2 separate regions of the Homo sapiens genome follow, and region 2 is linked to region 1. The links are contacts of gene promoters, found by promoter capture Hi-C in blood cells and fetal thymus (Javierre and others, 2016). All regions are on one chromosome and are shown on one strand. The core of a region is centred on a gene start or on the middle of the fragment in contact, and the rest is flanking DNA. Distances in the headings are between cores, read along the strand shown. Region 1 holds the start of SMIM30 (small integral membrane protein 30). Region 2 overlaps LOC105375457 (a long non-coding RNA gene).

The links. The method cuts DNA at HindIII sites, captures the fragments that hold promoters and counts their contacts. A CHiCAGO score of 5 or more calls a contact.
Region 2: a contact is called between a fragment that was not itself captured here and the fragment with the promoter of SMIM30 in region 1, in 1 of 17 cell types (naive CD4 T cells). The highest score is 5.2, in naive CD4 T cells.

What each region holds. Positions count from the first base shown.
Region 1 is chr7:113,117,119-113,119,962 of GRCh38, reverse strand. It overlaps SMIM30 (small integral membrane protein 30), which reads left to right and starts at 1,409. Exons shown (of 3, transcript NM_001352688.2): 1 at 1,409-1,435; 2 at 1,802-1,895; 3 at 2,356-2,844. The coding sequence starts at 2,385. The coding sequence ends at 2,564. The region is part of intron 2 of LOC107986837; the gene reads right to left. RefSeq lists enhancers at 1,010-1,149, 1,044-1,638. The HindIII fragment of the contact is 11,880 bases long and covers 1-2,844 here.
Region 2 is chr7:112,426,595-112,429,438 of GRCh38, reverse strand. LOC105375457 (a long non-coding RNA gene) reads left to right here. Exons shown (of 3, transcript XR_001745325.2): 3 at 1-2,844. It also overlaps a transcript of IFRD1 not described here. Among named protein-coding and RNA genes, the nearest start is that of IFRD1, 22 kb to the left of the region's middle. The HindIII fragment of the contact is 593 bases long and covers 1,163-1,755 here.

The DNA.
Region 1 (2,844 bases), core at 160-2,659:
AAATAAACACATAAGGAAAAATAAACATGTAGGGAAAAACAAAATGTTCACAGTAGGATATGAGAGAATATTTTGGAAGCTATAAAAATATAACTCCTATTCCAAATATAATTGATTACAAAGGCACGAAAGTAGCTCAAAACAAAGGATGAAATGAACAAAACCTTGTTAAAATAATCAAGGTTAGAGAAACAATGCTGACGTTATTGTGCAGTTATTCTCAGATTTCCAATTTTCTAGTCACCTTGGTTTGGTTTATTTGGCACCTCTCGGTCTCTCATAAGATCTTGTTGGCATATTTATCTAGTCAAATCATTATTATTATTAGGCAACATTACTGAGCACCTGCTGGGTGCCGGTTAGGAGCCAAGAATATAAATCTTTGCTAGAGAGACTAGGAACGTGTAAGAAAAAGGGTAACCGACAACACAAGAATACATGCTAATTATTGGCATTGAACTGAACGTACCTGCATTATCTAACAGACTGAACCAGGGGACTTTCAGACCAGGCAGGTGGCTTCACACCCAACCCTCATCATTAATAATTTATAATGTAAGGATAGCAAATAAATTTTCAAATCAGTAAATATGAAAGAGTTCAGAAGATCAGATGACTAGAAAGGTTCAGTAAGGAGTTCACAATTAGCAGACAATTGAAAGAGCGCCTTTCAGAAAGGTTACGACTTACATATACAAATAACTAATTCTTGTTTTATGATTTAAAAGCAGTATTTTTACATCTTTTCACAAATATGTAGGGACATTTGGGGCTGAGGTTTCACAAAAACATAGGTGGGAAGGAATCACCGCAGTGCACTCCTGAATAGATTGTCACTTTAGGACCTGAATCCTGAGAGATCTTCTGCAACAGGGCTAAACCCATTTTTCCTAAACTTTATTTTGCACTACAAATGTTTTTTAACCTTTTACGATATGTCTTATTAACCGCGCTTTTTCCCCATTGACTAAAAAATTAATAAATGGCATATGTTTCATTAGGAAGATGGTGACAGAGATTTCCTGCTTCAGAAACGTTGGAAGCCACTGGTTTAAAAGCACCCGGAACAGAGGGCTGTACTTGGGTTCTCTCTCCCCGCTGTGTCATTTCAGTCGAAGAAAAAGACAAAATTACATGTGCGCCTTACAGACTCAACAGGGTAGAAAACACTTGCTATCATTTCTTTTATTTTGAAGTGAGCTTTTATATAAACACACGAAACCATCTATTTAATAGTAAAACGTTGGGCAGGGAAAGGAAGTCCCGCGCGTTCGCGACTCTTCGCCTCCGCTAGAGCGTGACCGTCACGCCCTCTGCTACTTATAGGGGGAACGCGCCGGGGCATCATAGGAGTCGGCGGCGGCAGGGATTGTGGGAAATGTAGTTTGGAGACTCCGCCCTCCTCGCCATTCCTGTAATGGCTGCTTCCTAGAAGGTAATGTACGAACTCGTCTCCAAAGGATACTTAGGTTGCACCAGTGTATTTGTAAAACAGGAGCAAATTTGGACCTTGCCGGGCCAAAGTACGAATTCTTTTTCAAATCTTAATATCAAGTCCTGAAATGAAATTATCTCTGTTCTGTTTCTTTTTACCTTTTCTTGTGTGGGTGAACTGACCAACTTTTAAGTCTAGTTCCCTGTTGGACAGACTTTTCTCAACTCATTACCTATCCCCCTACCGTCCATATGGCCTCCACGCTCTGCACTGACTCTAGCTGCCTCTTTAAAATAATAATAGTAATAATAATTAATTTTTAAATCCTTCTCTCCGCCCCCTCCCCACCCCCCATGCTAATAATAGGTCGTGTCACGTGGAACCTCTTAATCTCAGCATCCGGAGCTCCAGGAAGGGAAAATTTCAAGTCAGATAGAATTCTATATATACCATTTCTTTGGTAAGTCTTATTAATTCCCCACAACTTCGCAGAGTTATATGTTGTGTGACTTTTGCCAAATTTGTCTGCATTTCTTGGATGGGAGAGACCCTAAGAAAATGTACAATTTTTACCCACTAGGATATTTTAAGTTTCCAAGTTAGTGGCTCGTGCTTTTTTTCTGTTTGTTCTTAATTATGAACTCCTGTTCAATTTTTGTTTGGTTGATGCACGAGGTGTTGGCATTATCGTGGAAAATTCCTGGGTTTAGAGTGTTATCACGAGATAGGGAGATGAACCTCAAATTACTGTCTTTAACGTCCCTCTGTTTTTCCACCTATAAGATGAGGAGATGGATTGGAAATGATTCATAAAGTATCCAAAAGATTGGCTGGCCTGTTATTTGTCATGTGTTCATTTTGTCATTTGAAAAGGGAGGAATTTTTAATGGTTCCTTTTTGTTTCCATGTTTAATTTCTAGGAACCTTCAGCCCTCAAGATTCCAACATCATGACCTCAGTTTCAACACAGTTGTCCTTAGTCCTCATGTCACTGCTTTTGGTGCTGCCTGTTGTGGAAGCAGTAGAAGCCGGTGATGCAATCGCCCTTTTGTTAGGTGTGGTTCTCAGCATTACAGGCATTTGTGCCTGCTTGGGGGTATATGCACGAAAAAGAAATGGACAGATGTGACTTTGAAAGGCCTACTGAGTCAAACCTCACCCTGAAAACCTTTGCGCTTTAGAGGCTAAACCTGAGATTTGGTGTGTGAAAGGTTCCAAGAATCAGTAAATAAGGGAGTTTCACATTTTTCATTGTTTCCATGAAATGGCAACAAACATACATTTATAAATTGAAAAAAAAATGTTTTCTTTACAACAAATAATGCACAGAAAAATGCAGCCTATAATTTGCTAGTTAGGTAGTCAAAGAAGTAAGATGGCTGAAATTTACATAAGTAATATTTCATAAT
Region 2 (2,844 bases), core at 210-2,709, 690 kb after region 1:
GGAACTATTGAATAACTGATGTTCAAAGATTTATACATCTGAATGAACATTCTAGAGTGCAAATTGCCTTTGACTTAACGTGACCAAAAACAGAATTCTAAAGTGTAATCACATGCTGGATGTGCCCAACGACTATGATACAGAGTGATGTGTGCATAGGCCAGTGGTTTCTTTAGGTACAAGACATGCCAAACACAACTGAATAGCCAGGTTTGAGATTAGGCAAGTGTTTTAAAGTAGAAAAAGCCACAATTGGGATAAAAACAAAGCAAGAATATGGGAGACAAACAAGAAAGTACAACGGAGTAATTGCAACTAAGGCAACTCAATTGGTAGATAGGTCTAAGAACCAAAGAGTTCAAACATTTGTAAATTATTTTCCTGCTTTTGGACAGACAGGTCAAAGTTACTTTTCTGAACTAGAAAGATTTGTAGGGAGATGAATTTTAGAGGCAGTAAAGGGCCACCCCAAAGTAAAACTGTCAAGTTAATAAAGTCTGTTGTCATGATGACAATAGCTTTTGAGAAGAGGATTGACATGATGTCAACGTTTTGTTTTGAGGAAGATTAATCTACTGGTAATAAGAAAGATGACTTGAAAGGGGACGGGCAGGGTGGATTCAGGTTTTGTGTGTCTGAAGCTAATACCAGCTTTAAAAGGGTAGGGGCTCTGTTTAAGAAAAAGAATACAGATTCAAGTATACAAAATTTGCTAGGGCCCTTCCCAGAGCCTTTGAATGGCTTCATGCAAGGAAAGGAGTCTGAAGGTTAAGCTTCCTTACCTTCGATAAGCCACCTCATAAGCAGATGATAGCTAAGCCACTAACAGTGTCACCCTCATCTTGCCAGCCACCCAAGTGAGACCCCCAGGAGTCATCTTTTATCCTTCATCCTATTTCCTCTTCAGTCACCAAGCCATGCCCATTTAATTTCCTAAGTATTTCTCAAGTTCATTTATTTCTTCATTCTTCATTCCAGTACCTTAGATCTACCTGTCACTGCCTCTTAACTACTCCATTGCAAATAGCTTTTCCAAACTCGTTCCCTGTTTCCACCCTGTTTACCTCCTAGAAACCTATCCTTCACCCAGCCGCTCAGAATACTCTATCTATGGGTAGATCTGATAATCTCACACTTCTGGTTAATACTCTTCATTAAAGCTTCATCAGGAGAAGGCCCAAGCCTCCATAGTATTATAAGCAAAGCCTGTGTGATCTCACCCCTTTGTCAGCTCAGCTCTTGACACCCTTGCTTTGCACTTCTCACATGTCAGCACAATACTGCATTTCTGGCAAATGCCTTGAAAGTTTTTACATCTGGGTTTTTGGTTCCTGACTGACCTCTTGGCTGAGAATTATCTCCCTTTTCCCTCATCCCTCCTCCTTCTAAACTCTCTTTACCAGGCTCACCTTTTCCTGGGGGTCTTCATAGAGACCCACCCCTCTGCCCCCATCAAGCTGGTGAGGTGCCCTCCTCTGTAATGACACATACAGTGCTCCATCAAGGCACTCAGCACCCTGTGTTAAAAGGACCTGTTTATAGCTGCCTTTCCCTCTCCTCTCCAGACTGTGATCTCCTTGGGAATAGGAGCCACATCTGATGCATTTTTTTATCCGCAGCACTTCACAGAATGTAGGTCTCACTAGATATTTTTGAATGAGTGAACAAATTAATGATGAAATCAAGCACTACATGAGTTATTCTCTGTGATAGAGCATAGAAAGATAAGAGATAGTTCTGGGGTATGTCTAAGCTTGTGAGTAGGAGAAAGAAAAGAAAGCAATTAAACACAGAAGACAGAATAATCAGTAAAAGGGATCAATAGCTATCGTTTATGTTGTTTTTCTACTTATCATCAAGTTACGTTTCTACAATGAATTCATATTCCTTTTTAAAAATGAAAGAAAGGAGTTTATTAGGGTAATTGCTAAGCTACTGAGACAAAAAGACCACAAAATAGAATGATGAAAATGTAGTGTAAATGTAATTCTCTCACATGTAAAAATCCAGTGGTGATCAGTTTAGGGCTGGCAGAGGAGCACTGCTGTCCTCAACATGCTAGCCCTGCCACCTTAACAGCAATTGCTTCCACTATGGTTTGAACTTTCCCCCAAAGTTCATGTGTTGGAAACTTAATCCCCAATGCAACAGGATTGTGGGGTGAGGCCTAATTGGAGGTGTTTAGGTCATGAGGGCTCTGCCCTAATAAATTGATTAATGTCATTATCTTGAGAGTCGGTTTGTTATGACAGTGAATTCAACCCCCTCTTGCCCACCCTTGTGATGCCTTCTGTCATGTTTTGATTGTAAACCAAAAGTATCTGAGACAGCTCTTGGTCAATTTAGAAAGCTTATTTTGCCAAGGTTAAGGACACACCTGTGTCACAGCCTCAGGAGGTTCTGACGACATGTGCCCAAAGTGATTGGGGTACAGCTTGGTTTTATACATTTTAGGGAGACATGAGACATGAATCAACGTATATAAGATGTACCTTGGTTAGGTCCAGAAAGGCCTGACAACTCAGAGGGGGGCCTCCAGGTAACTGGTAAATTTAAAGGTTTTATGATTGGCATTTGGTTGGAAGAGTTATTATCAATAGAAAGAAATGACTGGGTTACAATAAGAGGTTGTGGAGACTAAGGTTTTATCATGCAGATGATGCCTCCAGGTAGCAGGCTTCAGGGAGAATAGATTGTAAATTCTTATCAGACTCAAAGAGTCTGTTCTATCAGTAATTACAAAAAGGATGAGGGCATAATGAGACATGTGTGGATCCCACTTCCCATCATGGCCTGAATTAATTTTTTAGGTTAACTTTGGAATCCCCTTGGCCAAGAGGAGGG